Linked DNA regions of Homo sapiens: region 1 is linked to region 2. The links are contacts of gene promoters, found by promoter capture Hi-C in blood cells and fetal thymus (Javierre and others, 2016). All regions are on one chromosome and are shown on one strand. Each heading gives the region's core, a stretch centred on a gene start or on the middle of the fragment in contact. The rest is flanking DNA. Distances are from core to core; before and after follow the strand shown.

Region 1 (7,505 bases), core at 3,904-6,403, 1.8 Mb before region 2:
TCAAAATGGATCATAGAACAAAATGTAAATCCCAAAACTATAAGACTAAAGGATAACAGAGAATCTAGAAGACTGGGCTTGGTGACGATATTTTTGATAAAACACCAAAGGTATGATGCATGAAAGAAGTCATTGGTAAACTGGGCTTCATTAAAATTAAAAACTTCTCTCCAAAAGACACTGTGACAAGAATGAAAAGATAAACCACAGACTGGGAGAAAATGTTTGCCAAAGGGATCTTGTAAAAAGGACTGTTGTCCAATATATACAAACAACGCTTAAAACTGAACAACAAGAAAACAACCCAATTTAAATATGGGCAAAAAGAAGCTAGGCATAATGGTGCATGCCTGTAACCCCAGCTACTCAGGTGGGGGACTGCTCAAGCCCAGGAGTTTGGGACCAGCATGGGCAATGTAGTGAGACCCCATCTCAAAAATGGTAAATAAAATAGGCAAAAAGATCTGAACAGGCACCTCACCAAAGAAGATGTACAGATGGCAAATAAGCATATGAAAAGATGTTTGGCTGTGCATAGTGGCTCACGCCTGTAATCCTAGCACTTTGGAAGGCTGAGGCATGAGGTTTGAGCCCAGGAGTTTGAGACCAGCCTGGGCAACATAGGGAGACCTCATCTCTACAAAAATGAAAATTAGCCAGGCATGGTGGTGCAGAGGTTTGTTTGAGCCCAGCAGTTTGAGACCAGCCTGGGCAACATAGGGAGACCTCATCTCTACAAAAATAAAAATAAAAATTAGCCAGGCATGGTGGTGCATGCCTGTAGTCCCAGCTGCTCACGAGGCTGAAGCAGCAGGATTGCTTTGAGCCTGGGAGGTTGAGGCTGTAGTGAACCATGATCTGCCTCCAGCCTGAGTGACAGAGCAAGATTCTGTCTCACAAAAAAAAAAAAAAAAGAAAAAAGATGTTTAACATCATATGTCAGTAAGGAAATGCAAACTAAAAGAACAGTGAGATACCACTACACACTTACTAGAATGACGAAAATCCAAAACATTGACAACACCAAATATGAGGGAGGATGTGGAGCAGTAAGAAGTCTCATTCATTGCTGACTGGAATGCAAAATGGTACAGCCACTTTGGAAGACAGTTTGGCAGTTTCTTACAAAACTAAACACTCTTACTGTATGATATAGCAGTCACGCTTCTTGGTATGATATTTACCCAAATGAGTTGAAAATTTACGTCCACACAAAAACCTGCACATGGATGTTTATAGCAGCTTTATTCATAATTGCCAAATCTTGGAAGCAACCAAGATGTCCTTCAGTAGGTGAGTGGAAAACTAAACTGTGGTACCTCTAGACATTGGAATATTATTCATGGCTAAAAAGAAATGCACTGTCAAGCCATAAAAAGACATAGAGGAGCCTTAAATGCATATTACTAAGTAAAAGAAGCAAATTAAAATTGTGTGATTACAATTATATAATTGTATGTTATTCCGGACAAGGCAAAACTACAGAGACACACACACAAAAATCAATGGTGTCAGGGGTTAGAGGAGAGGGAGGATAAACAGATGGAGCACAGAGGATGTTTGTGCTCTGTGCTCTGAGGATGTTTGGGCTGTGAAACTATTCTGTACTGATGGATATGTGTCATTATACATAGCCAAAACCTACAGAATGTACACCAAGAGTAAACCCCAATACCAATAGTAAACTATTTTACACCAATAGTAAACTATGGCCTTTAGGTGATAATGATGTGTCAATGTAGGTTCATTGATTATTGATTGTAACAAATGTATCACTCTGGTGAAGGATGTTGATAGTGGGGGAGGTTATGAATGAGGAGGGGAAGGAGTATATGAGAACTCTACTTTCTGCTCAGTTTAGCTGTGAACCTAAAACTGCTTTAAAAAATAAAGCCTATTTAAAAAAAATACATAACCAAAACAAAAATAACTATGATAAAAAGAAAAAAAAAACCGGTTGCCTGCAGGGGTTAAATGGGTGTGGATGTGGAGGATGGGAGATAAAAGACAGTGGAGCCAGGCTCAATGGCACATGCCTATAGTCCCAGCTACTCAGGAGGCTGAGATAGGAGGATTGCTTGAGCCTAGAAATTCGAGGTTACAATGAGCTATGGTTCCACTCCAGCTTGGGTGACAAAGCAAAACCCTGTCTCTTAAAAAAGTGGGGGAGGGGCAAATTAAGGAGAGGGACCTTATACTGGACCAATAATGATAAAATGTCATGAAATAAAGAGTTTAACTCATTGCTCTTCACTTTCAGTCCAAAGGAAAATGAGATTATTTGTAAGTGCTTCATACAAATTATATCAGCTTTAGCAGGTTACTCGTCATATTTTGACACAGTATACACTGATTTTGTCCTTACGTCTTCACATTTTGAACATACCCTTTACAGGTAAGAAGGAATTATCCCCTAAAATATAAGGATAAAAGAATCTGGAATCTAGGCCCGACGCGGTGGCTCACGCCTGTAATACCAGCACTTTGGGAAGCCGAGGCGGGTGGATCATTTGCGGTCAGTTCAAGACCAGCCTGTCCAACATGAGGAAACCCCGTTCTTACTGAAAATACAAAAATTAATTGGGCAGTAGTGGTGTTCGCCTGTAATCCCAGCTACTCGGGAGGCTGAGGCAGGAGAATCCCTCGAGCCTGAGAGGCGGAGGTTGCGGTGAGCCGAGATCGGACCACTGCACTCCAGTCCGGGCGAGAGAGTGAGACGCTGTCTCAAAAAACAAAAAACTGTAATCTGAATTCAATTTTTCTACAACACACCCCCAGACAAAAAAAACTTGGCCAGCCGCGGTGGCTTGCGCCTGTAATCTTTGGGAGGCCGAGGCGGGCGGATCACAAGGTCAGGAAATCGAGACCATCCTGGCTAACATGGTGAAACCCCGTCTCCACTAAAAATACAAAAAGTTAGCTGGGCCTGGTGGCAAGCGCCTGTATTCCCAGCTACTCGGAGGCTGAGGCAGGAGAATGGCGTGAACCCAGGAGGCGGAGGTTGCAGAGGTTGCAGTGAGCCGAGATTGCGCCACTGCACTCCAGCCTGGGCGACAGAGCGAGACTCCGTCTTAAAAACAAACAAAAAACAAAAACTTGTTTTGTACCTCTCCATAGCTTAGTATTACTTTTTAACACAAACACCTATTGTTCTCTGTCTGCATGCACTGGAATTGAGGTCTGTGGATGTGCCTTTCCTGACAATATTTCTTCACGCTTGCTGCCCACTGGTGCTGTGAGGGCACAATAACGAATGTTTACTTTGCCCTTGCACTCTTCACATCTGGGAACCGCAAAGGAGCGCGGTGGTCGGACTGTCAGCCTCGCCTTCTATTCTTTGATTTCCAGTAACTTATTTTCGAAAGATTGCTGGAGGGAAAGGCTCAACGTCTCTTTTGGGATTTTCCTAAGCAGAAAGACCTCATCCTAACAAAACTGAGGCGCCAATCCTACTGGCTGGCAACTTTCGGCAGGGAGGGTGATTCTATTTGAAGATCAATCCTAACTCTGGGACCCCTTGGGAATGTCCAGGAGCTAGGAACGCAGCGCCGCGGTCTCTCCAGCCTCTGGTCCCTGGGAGCAAGCAGGGCACCGGTGGAGCAGGTGCCTCTGGGGCCGCACGGAAACCCAGCTAGGCCAGTTCCTCCACTGCGCCGGTAGGCGGCGGAGACGCTGCGCGTGCGCGCAGGGCAGACGGTAGAGCGGAGACGACGCTCCCAGACTCCTCCGGTCTCCCCGGGCAGCATGAAGACCGCCGAGAACATCAGAGGAACCGGCAGCGACGGGCCGCGGAAACGAGGCCTCTGCGTCCTCTGTGGCCTCCCCGCGGCAGGAAAATCGACTTTCGCGCGCGCCCTCGCCCACCGGCTGCAGCAGGAGCAGGGTTGGGCCATCGGTGTTGTCGCGTATGATGACGTCATGCCCGACGCGTTTCTCGCCGGGGCAAGAGCGCGACCGGCGGTCAGCACGGAGGGGCGGGGCCTGGGCCGCGGGGCGGGGCGGGGCGGGGCGGGGCGGGGCGGGGACACTCGCGTCCACGCGGTCCTGGGTGATTTGCCATGAGCGCCCATTGCTTGGTGTGGGAGGTGAAGTTCGAGAAAAGTGGAGCTGGGTTAACATAGTTACTGCAGAGGGTGAATGCGTTGGCTGTAGAAAGTGGTTACAAAGCCAACTGTTAGAACGATGCATTTTAGATGCTTATCTGTATATTTGATGCATGTATATGTTGTATATTCTATACAGTTGAGTCTTCAGACAGGGTCAGGTTCTCAAGTCAGCGTGCAAGGTGGAAAGCCCCTATAGTCAAATGCACTGTCGAAAATCCCTTAGGAAGTTTCTCCTTAGGAGAGGGAAAGAAGTTCTAAAACTTGAACGTCTAGCTACGGGTGGATTCAGGTTTTGTAATTTGAGGAATCCTCTTTAAGAAAAGGAATAAAAACTATAAGTAACAAAATTTCTGGGGTCCCTCAGAACGATAGAAAGAGGCTGTACAAATGCATTATCAGACCTATGAAGCTTAATCTTTGTTCATCTCAAAGTAAATCTGCCTCTGCCAGCTTTGGGAAGGATGGCTGTTTCTTAGTTGACCACCAGAGGAAGTAATGGGTTTGTATTTACGGAAAAACTTGTATGTTCCAAATACATCTCTTTAAGCCCTCCTCATCTCACACTCAGCACAGTGAGATACATCCTCTTGGAGAAGCATGTGGAAACTGAGACCACTGGGGGAAGAGTAGATTACATTCGTGTTTCTCATGCTCACTCTTGAGTAAATACTCTTTGAAATATTCTGAAATGTTAACATTATTATTTTTGTTGTTTAATGCCTAATGTAGATGAATTTACAGAAATCAAATGCAAATGTTATGTGACTCTACTTTCTAAGTATATATACAAAAATACAGTACATTTGGTGCATGGGCTCTCCAGCAAGGTGTATCTACTTTCTCATTCTTGGTTAATTGTGAAGTAAGTGCAGTGTCAGGATAGCGCAGGATTGACCTGGATGATAGTATTTTCAACACTTCGGAGAAAGCTGAAAGTTGTCGATAGGGATTGTTGTATTTGCTGGCTTTCCCTTCACTTGTATTATGTTGTTTTTTCCACGCTTTTCCTATGGACAAAGACTGTGGGACTCATCTGCTCACTTAGGAAGTGATATGTGTTTCCAATTTAGTGGGTTTAGCTGATGTGTTTGTTGTATGTAGTGTAATCTCAGTGGTGGTAAGGCATGGGCAGGCAAGTGAGAGTTCTCACTCCCCTGTCCTCGTGTTTTCCCTCCAGCTTAGATTTCTTAACTATGTCAGGATTCTCCACAGCCCTTGACCAGCACAAGATTACTTGTATTCTCAAGCTGTTTATTCCCCTCAGTTTGTTTCCTCCATCTTTCCCCATCCCATATCAACTCATTTGTTAGCCTGAGGTCTTTTCTTCTTGACCCAGAGACTTTTCACCTGATCTTTTTGCTGTCTACTACCTTTCCCATTTCAGGGGAAAACCTGCATTATTATATCTTAGCCAGACTATTTTGACTCCACCTTTCTCTTGGATGATAAATAAGTTCTTTCATTTATTCACTTATTCAGTCAGTCATCCATTTAATATACATTTCTGGAGCACCGACCCTCTGCTGGAGGCTGAGTATGCAATGGACAGTGATCTAGCAGAGAGAGAAGTGTAAACAAATGCTTAAACTGTGTAAGCACTGCTAGAGTGGAGATATATGTATAGAATGGGGTTTCATGATGGGCAAGGGAGAGGCTGAGCTGCCTTCTGCATGGTTGAGTCTGAGAAAGCTTTACACAGCACTAGTAACATTAGTTTTCCAGGCAGAAGGAATGGTATATATGGAGTCATGTGAAACCAGGTGTGTTAGAGAACTACAGATGGTTCCGTATTGTGAGCTGAAATTTTCATATGGGGCAGGGTGGCAGTGAGGCCAGATGACTGACCACCCTAGTGGCCTAATATGAATTGCAATTCTTTGGTCTCTTGTAGCCATCCCAATGGAAATTGCTTCGACAGGAACTGTTGAAGTACCTGGAATACTTCTTGATGGCTGTCATTAATGGGTGTCAGATGTCTGTCCCACCCAACAGGACTGAAGCCATGTGGGAAGATTTTATAACCTGCTTAAAGGATCAAGATCTGATATTTTCTGCAGCATTTGAGGCCCAGTCTTGCTACCTCTTAACAAAAACTGCTGTTTCTAGACCTTTGTTTTTGGTTTTGGATGACAATTTTTATTATCAGAGTATGAGATATGAAGTCTACCAGCTGGCTCGGAAATGTAATTAAAACTTTTTTTTTCTTACACATGGAGATACTTATTCACGTATCAAAAACACTATTGTCTTCAATGAGAATTTAACTTGATTAGGAGGTTATGTAGATTTACTTAATTTTAAAAGCTAGATGTTCAGTATTGCAAACGGAGTTTTTCCTACTATAATTGTCATAATTTGTCTAATATATGTTTATTTCATATTTTGGAAAAAGAGTATACCAGTAATTCTATCATTTTAAACTGTTTTCAGATTCGTTGGGCTTTTGCCAGCTCTTTTTAGATTGTCCTCTTGAGACCTGTTTACAGAGGAATGGCCAGAGGCCACAGGCACTGCCTCCTGAGACCATCCACCTGATGGGAAGAAAGCTAGAAAAGCCCAACCCTGAGAAAAATGCTTGGGAACACAACAGCCTCACAATTCCGAGTCCAGCATGTGCTTCGGAGGCCAGGTATTCCACTCAATCATCCCTCCCTGGATGCTCCCCTGTGCCAGGTATCATGGTCAGTGCTTTGTCTATGTTGGTTTAGTTAGTCCTCACACAGGCATTGGAGAGACATTATTCCCCACTTTGTGTGGAAGCTAAAAGTGAAATGGGAAAATTTAGTTTGTCCAGAAAGATTTGAACCCAAGTTTATTTGCAAATGTCTGCTCATAACTGTTACGATTATACTGTCTTCCAGTAGTTGGAGCAGGGAATTCAGAGAACACATCTTTGATTCTCTTGCTAAAATAGATAGTCTAAATAGGTTGCCTGGTAGTTTTCTTATAGAAAGAGATCTGTGAAAGAGTGCAACAGGTACTGGGTCCTATTTGCCTTAGAGCTCACCATAGTTACACTGCTTTTGCATATGTGAGGCTTGTAGGCTATGCTGTCTAATGCATTTCATTCATTACGTATGTCTTGAGAGTTCTAGAGCAGCATATTTCTAGCAGAAACTTCGCTGGCGATGGAAATGTTCTATATTTGCACTAATATGGTAGCTGCTAGCCACATTTGACTATTGAGCCCTTAAAAGTAGCTAGTGTAACTGATGACCTGAATTTTTTTGTTTAACTTATTGATTTAAACTTAAGTAGCCTCATGTGGCCAGTGGCTATTTATTGGACAGCGCAGTTCCAGAGGTATATTGCCCACACTTCCTTAGTTCCTGCATATTGTCCACGAGGGATCGGTATCAGCTCACTGCAGGCTTGACCTCCTGGGCTCAAGCAGTTCTC
Region 2 (7,282 bases), core at 4,353-6,852:
TCAGTGTAGTTTTGATTTGCATTTCTCTGATGATCAGTGATGTTGAGCACCTTTTCATATGCCTGTGTTAGTGACTTCTGATTCCAACCTCGCTCTCCCTCCAGATTTGTATTTTCTCTTATTTTATTGTATTGCAGCTGCCTGGATGTCCCTTGCTACATTAAACTCAATGTGTTCAACACTGAACTCACTTGCATTACCACCCCCCCACCATGCCTCCCCACCAAACCCTTTCTCCTCTGTGTTTGCGGTTGGTTGATCCCTGACCATCTACCCTGTCACCCAAAGTGGAGCATCATCTTCCTCCTTTCCTCCCTGCACTGCTCTTCTTGGTCAGGACTGGTCTCTGGGCTCAGGCATTTCTCCAGCCTGTCACCACTGCTCTGCCTTCCTTCTGGCCACTCAGGCCATTGCAGCAGCTTCTGAGTAAACCTTCCAGGAGCCATTTGGCACTTGGCTCCTTCTCAGGCCCCAGCTATGCCTTGTTTCCCATTACCTCTTGAAAGGCCTCCAAGACTTGCCCAGTTTTCCTCTCCTTCAGTGCCTGACACCCCTCACTCCTTTCCTTTGCATTCTCCTGCCTGATCATGGACTGTACAGGCAAACTGACTTGAACTTGAATCACAACTTACTCCATACAAAGTATGACCTTGAGTGAGTTACTTAATTTAAACATCTTAAGTCGCAGTTTCCTCAAATGGGCATAATCCAAATGAAGCTGGATTTTCTTGTTCCCACTTTCAGGCCCATCATAGCAAAGTGTGGCATTCTCATGCAGAAATGCTTTGCTTTGTATTGATATATATATAAATGGAATATTACTATTTGCATGTTTGCATTTTACATCTTCATTTAACAATATTCCAGTGATATATTGTACTTAGAGATCTTTTTTGTCAATGCCTATAGATCTCTTACCTTTTAAACTAATTTATGATGATAGAAATGATGGCTAGCAATCGTACAGCTGTCACTGTGTGCCAAGAACTGTTTTCAGCGCATCCAATATATTATTTCAGTTACTCCTAAAGATAGCCACATTCCCAGCACTTTGGGAGGCTGAGGCGGGCAGATCACGAGGTCAGGAGTTCGAGACCAGCCTGGCCAACACAGTGAAACCCGGTCTCTACTAAAAATACAAAAAAATTAGCCGGGCGTGGTGGTGGGTGCCTGTAATCCCAGCTATTCGGGAGGCTGAGGCAAGAGAATTGCTTGAACCCAGGAGGCAGAGGTTGCAGTGAGCCGAGATCGCGCCACTGCAGTCCAGCCTGGGTGACAGAGCAAGATTCCATCAAAAAAAAAAAAAAAAGATAGCCACATGAGGTAGATACTAGTATTAGCCTCATTTTGCAGATGAGCTAACTACGGCACATAGAAGTAAGTTCTGGAGCTGAGACTGGGACCCAAGCAATCTATCATAAAGTTTTCAAGCATAACCACTACATGAGTGTGCTCTATCACTATAGGTGTTTTGCTGAAGATTTTCTTTTGTGTGTTTGTTTGTTTGTTTGAGACAAGGTCTCACTCTATCCCCCAGGCTGGAGCGCAGTGGCATGATCTTTTTTTTTTTTTTTTTTTTAAACAGGGTCTCACTCTGTCACCCAGGCTGGAGTGCAGTGGCATGATCTCAGCTCACTGCAACCTCTGCCTCCTGGGCTCAAGCAATTCTCCCACTTCAGCCTCCTGACTAGTTGGGATTTCAGCCACATGCCACCACATCTGGCTCATTTTTTTTGTCTTTTTAGTAGAGACAGGATTTCACCATGTTGGCAGGCTCGTCTTGAACTCCTGACCTCAAATGATCTGCCCGCCTCTGCCTCCCAAAGTGCTGGGATTACAGGCATGAGCCACTGCACCCAGCCCAGTGGCATGATCACTTAACTCACTGCAGCCTCGACTTCCTGGGCTCAAGCGATCCTCCTAACTCAGCCTCCCAAGTAGCTGGAGTTACAGGTGCCCAACACCATGTCCAGCTAATTTTTTAATTTTTTCTGTAGAGATGGGGGTCTCACTATGTTGCCCAGGCTGGTCTTGAACTCCTGGGCTCAAGCGATCCACCTGCCTTGACCTCTCAAATTGCTGGGATTACAGGTGTTAGCCACCGAGCCGGGTCAGAGCCTAAAAATTCTTTATTCTCATCTCTCTGTCCCCAAAGTCCAGAATCTCACTGTAGCCACTCATCTCCTCTTCTCATCCTCTTTCTCCTTCACCCCCTAAATTTTCCCAGTTCATCTGCCTCTTTCCTCTCTCATCTCCTACATCCCAAATGGTTTCTTCAGTGAGCAAACCTAGGCACCTCCTTATTAGCAAGCCTACGCTTTTTATCAGCTGCTTCTGTTTCCATCCCCCTCCAGCACCCTGCTGATCAAACACAGCTATCTTCCCTAAAACCCTCCCACTTTTTCATGCAGTGTTCATTCAACAGTCTTGTATCTGGCAACATTTACATGCCAGCCATTATTCCAGATGATGGAGATGCAACAGTAAATAAGCAGGAATCCCTGTCTTTGCTAGGTGTGGAGTCTCTTGTTTGTAATCCCAACTACTCAGGAGGCTGAGGCAGGACAATCACTGGAGTCTAGGAGTTTGACGTGCAGTGAGCTATTGGGTGACAGAGCAAGACCCTATATCTAAAAACAAAAATTAAAAAAAAGAAGAATCCCTGTCTTCGTGAAGTTCAGAACATGCTCGAAGAGGGGGAAAGACAATGGACAGGAAAGATGAATAACACAGCGTTGCTGCTAGATGATAAGTGGTAAAGGGAAAAGTAAACAGGGAAGTACTATTGAGAACATGGGGTGAAGGTTGCAATCCTTGATAGGGTACCAGGGAAGGACTCTCTGAGGGGGTGGCAGCACTGAGTGAAAACCTAAAAGAGGTTGTCATAGGTTTGGTTCCCAGGGAGCAAAGTGTGACACTGAGATGAACAGGGAGGAAGTTGATTAGGGAGTACTCTGAGAATCATCATCTGTTGGAGAAGAAAAAGAAGCAGGATTGGCTGAATGAAGTAGTTGGACTGAGGTACCACTACAACAGAATTTCAGCAAATCCCTCCTGGCCCTCCCTTTTTTCATCTACCCCGACCAGGCATTGAATGCTGGATGCCCACAAAGGGAGGACTGGCCTTAGGCAATGAAGCTCTCTTCAACTAGGTATACTTATAGGAGAGAGCTGACCTGCAGCAATCAATCAATCCTGCAAGGCAGACAGGAGGTCTCGGTGGCACATCAAATCATCTAGGGCAGAAACAGTAAACCATGCAGCTGCCTGGGAGAAGAGCATCCCAAGCAAAGAAAACAGCAAGCACAAAGGCCCTAAAGTGGAATGAGCTAGGGACGTCCAGGAAGCAGAAAGAAGACTAATGTAGCTGAAGCTCGGTAAATAAAGGGGGCAGTAGCAGGTAATAAAGTCAGACAAGTAATAGGGGCCAGGTCTTGGCAAGATTTGGTGTTTGGCCAAGAAGCAACATGGTTTAGTTCTTACATTTAAATGTTGACCATCTTGCTATGTTGAGCATAGATTTGGCAAGGAGGGGATTAAAAGCTGAAGCAGGAACACTGGGTTTCTCAGCCTTGTCACCACTGATGATAATTCTTCATTGTGGGCCTGTTGTTGTGCACTGTAAGACGTTTAGCCACTTCTCTGGCCTCTACCCACCCACCAGATGCCAGTGGCACCTGACACCGAATTATGATATCTGATAATGTTTCCAAACATTGCCACATGCCATTTTGGGAGGCAAAACTGCCACCAGTTCGGACTCCCTGAGTAAGAGGATACAAAATTCTGAGAGAGAGAGATGATGGTGACTTGAACCACCGTTTCACTTCCCTCCCACCCCAAGACGCTACAGTCTCAACTCTGCAGCCAAAGTGATTGTGTTATCTGTTATCAAATTATGTCACTACTATACCAAACTGTTTATTTGCCTGAATTTCCTCCATCCTTTCATCCTTGAGCTTGTAAATGTTGCCTTTTTTCTTTTCCTTTTTTTTTTCTTTGAGACAGAGCCAGAGCGCAGTGGCACAATCTCGGCTCACTGCAATCTCTGTCTCCCGGGTTCAAGCGATTCTCATGCCTCAGCCTCCTGAGTAGCTGAGATTACAGGCATGCACCAGAATGCCCGGCTAGTTTTTGTATTTTCAATAGAGATGGGCAGAGGGGAGTGGGCAGGGTCTCACCATGTTGGCCAGGCTGGTCTTGAACTCCTTGTCAGGCCTCTGAGCCCAAGCTAAGCCATCATATCCCCTGTGGCCTGCACGTATACATCCAGATGGCCTGAAGTAACTGAAGAATCACAAAAGAAGTGAAAATGACCGGTTCCTGCCTTAACTGATGACATTACCTTGTGAAATTCCTTCTCCTGGCTTAGAAGCTCCCCGACTGAGCACCTTGTAACCCCCGCCCCTTCCCACCAGAGAACAACCCCCTTTGACTGTAATTTTCCACTACCTACCCAAATCCTATAAATCGGCCCCACCCCTATCTCCCTTGCTGACTCTCTTTTCGGACTCAGCCCGCCTGCACCCAGTTGAAATAAACAGCCTTGTTGCTCACACAAAGCCTGTTTGGTGGTCTCTTCACACAAACGCGCATAACACTCCTGACCTCAGGTTAACACTCCCCACACACGCCCCCCCCTCCCAAAGTGCTGGGATTACAGGCATGAGCCACCGCGCCCGGCCTCAAATGTTGGCTTTTTGTTTTGTTTTGTTTTTGAGACGGAGTCTTGGTCTGTCACCCAGGCTGGAGTGCAGTGGCGCGATCTCGGCTCACTGCAAGCTCCGCCTTCCAGGTTCACGCCATTCTCCTGCCTCAGCCTCCTGAGTAGCTGGGACTACAGGAGCCCGCCACCACGTCCGGCTAATTTTTTGTATTTTTAGTAGAGACGGGGTTTCACCGTGTAAGCCAGGATGGTCTCAAACTCCTGACCTCGTGATCCGCCCACCTCGGCCTCCCAAAGTGCTGGGATTACAGGCGCGAGCCACCACGCTCAGCCTAAATGTTGGCCTTTTTTTTTTTTTTTTTTTTTTTTTTTTGAGACGAAGCTTCGCTCTTGCTGCCCAGGCTGGAGTGCAATGGCACGATCTCGACTCACCGCAACCTCCGCCTCCCGGGTTCAAGCCATTCCCCTCCCTCAGCCTCCCGAGTAGCTGAGATTACAGGCATGTGCCACCACGCCCGGCTAGTTTTTGTATTTTCAATATAGACAGGGTTTCTCCATGTTGGTCAGGCTGGTCTCGAACTCCTGACCTCAGGTGATCCGCCCGCCTCGGCCTCCCAAAGTGCTGGGATTACAGGCGTGAGCCACTGCGCCCGGCTAGAATGTTGTCTTTTAATACTAAGGTTTCACTTGCAAAGGGAAAGAACTGTTTGCGGAACTATCAACCGCTGTCTGAGGCGTGTCGGGAGCGACACCCCTGCGGAGGATACGGTGCCGGGGTCCTTCCGATCGCAAAAACCGGCGTTCCTCAGCCTTCAAGACTGTGAGCGCTCAGGGCCCTCGGCCGCTGCCCGCCGCAGACTCCACTTCCCATGATGCCAAGGGGTCGGGCCGTCCGGAAGGCCGTGTGCCCTCCGCGGGGCATGATGGGGTAGCTGGAGATTTCCATCATGGCGGCGTCCATTTCGGGCTACACCTTCAGTGCTGTGTGTTTCCACAGCGCCAACAGCAACGCGGACCACGTAGGTGCCGGGCCCCCTGCCGCGCCCGCTGGGGGCTTTCAGCCTCTGTCTCAGGCCGGCGCTCGCGGCCAAGCCGGGACCTCATGCGGCTCGCCCCCTGGGCACCAGGGCCGGCCGGAGGAGCTGGTGACCCGGGCGGCTCCCGCCCCCGGTGAGCTCTTGCCTCTGGGGGCTCCTTCGCCCCTGGGACAGGCCCCCTGGCTTCGCGCTCTCAGCCGCTCGGCCGTCCCGGCACAGCCGTCTCCCGTGCAGCAAAACTGTCCCACCTGGCCTCCTGCAGTGTCAGGAGTCGCTCGGTGGAAACCGAGCGCCTGCCCCTCCCTGAAAGTCAGGCTTCTAGACTTAAGAGGGGCGCACGGGGTCGGGAAGGAATCTAAAGGCCGGGCGTTTAGTCCAGTAGGCGAGGTACTCAGCCCCGCCCGCCGGTCTCGCAGGTTGTCGTGGGGGTGCTGCGAGTGAAACCGTGGCTGTCACTACTGATACTTGTTAGACACGGTTGTGTGTTTTCTTCGCCCTGATGCAAAATGGAGAATGTATACAGGAGCGTTCGGTGCAGGGTCTATTTTGTATTTCCTTGAAGTTGCGTGTTTAGTTCTTTGTGACTAGTTCTTTCACTAGTCACAGTGAAATAGGGAAGTGACAGGCCCACTACTGAGTGATGGGAAATGCATAGGCTGTGAGCCCACAGGAGGAGCAGATCCTGTCTGTTTCAGTGTCTTTATTTTACAAATTGTCTTTTAACGTCATTGGCCTCTGATTGGAAATGCTTTGTGAAACTAGATCACTTCTCTCTTAAAGGAGGTATATAATTTGGCCACCAAATTGGGGGATTATTTTAAGTGATGTTAATAGTGAATGATTCAAACTCATTAAACCTATGTGTGGGGTTTTTGGTTGTCATTACAAAGCAAAATGGTACACTGCAGAAGGAGGAACTGCATTTGGTTTGATGTCAGCAATCTTAGCTTCCATTAATAAAAACTGATTTCACAGGGAGGTGATTCCATTAGTAAATTGAATGCAATTAAATTATTGTACCTTTCATCTCTTCAGTGTTGATGGTAGAACTTAATGATAGGAATAGGAATATATACATCATGGGTTTTTCCAGAAGCAGCTTTGAAGACTATGGCCTAGGGTACTACAACCAGCTATTTAATAATGTAATATAGTTCCATATGTAAGGGTTTGTGATACCCCTAGTGTCCATGGACTATTAAAAATGGGTCCTTTATTTCTTGAATGCCTACTAATATCACAGTTTATGTATATGGCAAGATTACTGTAAGAACAAGCAGCTACCTGTTGAAAAAAATTAATTCAAGAGATATCCCTTAATATCTACTCTGCAAGGCGTGGTGCTTGACTTCATAGAAATTTTCACCAATGCCAATAGTTTGCAACTGTGTTTTATATGACCATGCCTGTTTATATTAACTTTGCCACAATTATAGATGTGGAATCCTTGAAAATAATTTCAATTTTAAGGTTGAAGAACCAACAATTTACTTTTGTAGTACATACTTATTTTGTCCAGTCAAGAAATTAATTTAAAACCACTCATTTGTAGACCTGGGGCTACCATACTTTTCTGTAC

Evidence for each region. Contacts are between HindIII fragments. The CHiCAGO score rates a contact against its expected background, and 5 or more counts as called.
Region 1: a fragment that was not itself captured here is called in contact with the fragment with the promoter of ABRAXAS2 in region 2 in 2 of 17 cell types (total CD4 T cells and naive CD4 T cells); the score reaches 7.0 in total CD4 T cells.

Annotation. Positions count from the first base shown.
Region 1 is chr10:122,976,736-122,984,240 of GRCh38, forward strand. It overlaps PSTK (phosphoseryl-tRNA kinase), which reads left to right and starts at 3,666. Exons shown (of 6, transcript NM_001363531.2): 1 at 3,666-3,960; 2 at 5,998-6,289; 3 at 6,537-6,735. The coding sequence starts at 3,745. RefSeq lists an enhancer at 3,678-3,997. The HindIII fragment of the contact is 1,280 bases long and covers 4,514-5,793 here.
Region 2 is chr10:124,796,217-124,803,498 of GRCh38, forward strand. ABRAXAS2 (abraxas 2, BRISC complex subunit) reads left to right here and starts at 5,603. Exons shown (of 9, transcript NM_032182.4): 1 at 5,603-5,685. The coding sequence starts at 5,614. RefSeq lists enhancers at 5,202-5,756, 5,429-5,698, 5,757-6,310 and a silencer at 5,799-5,878. The HindIII fragment of the contact is 5,454 bases long and covers 5,047-7,282 here.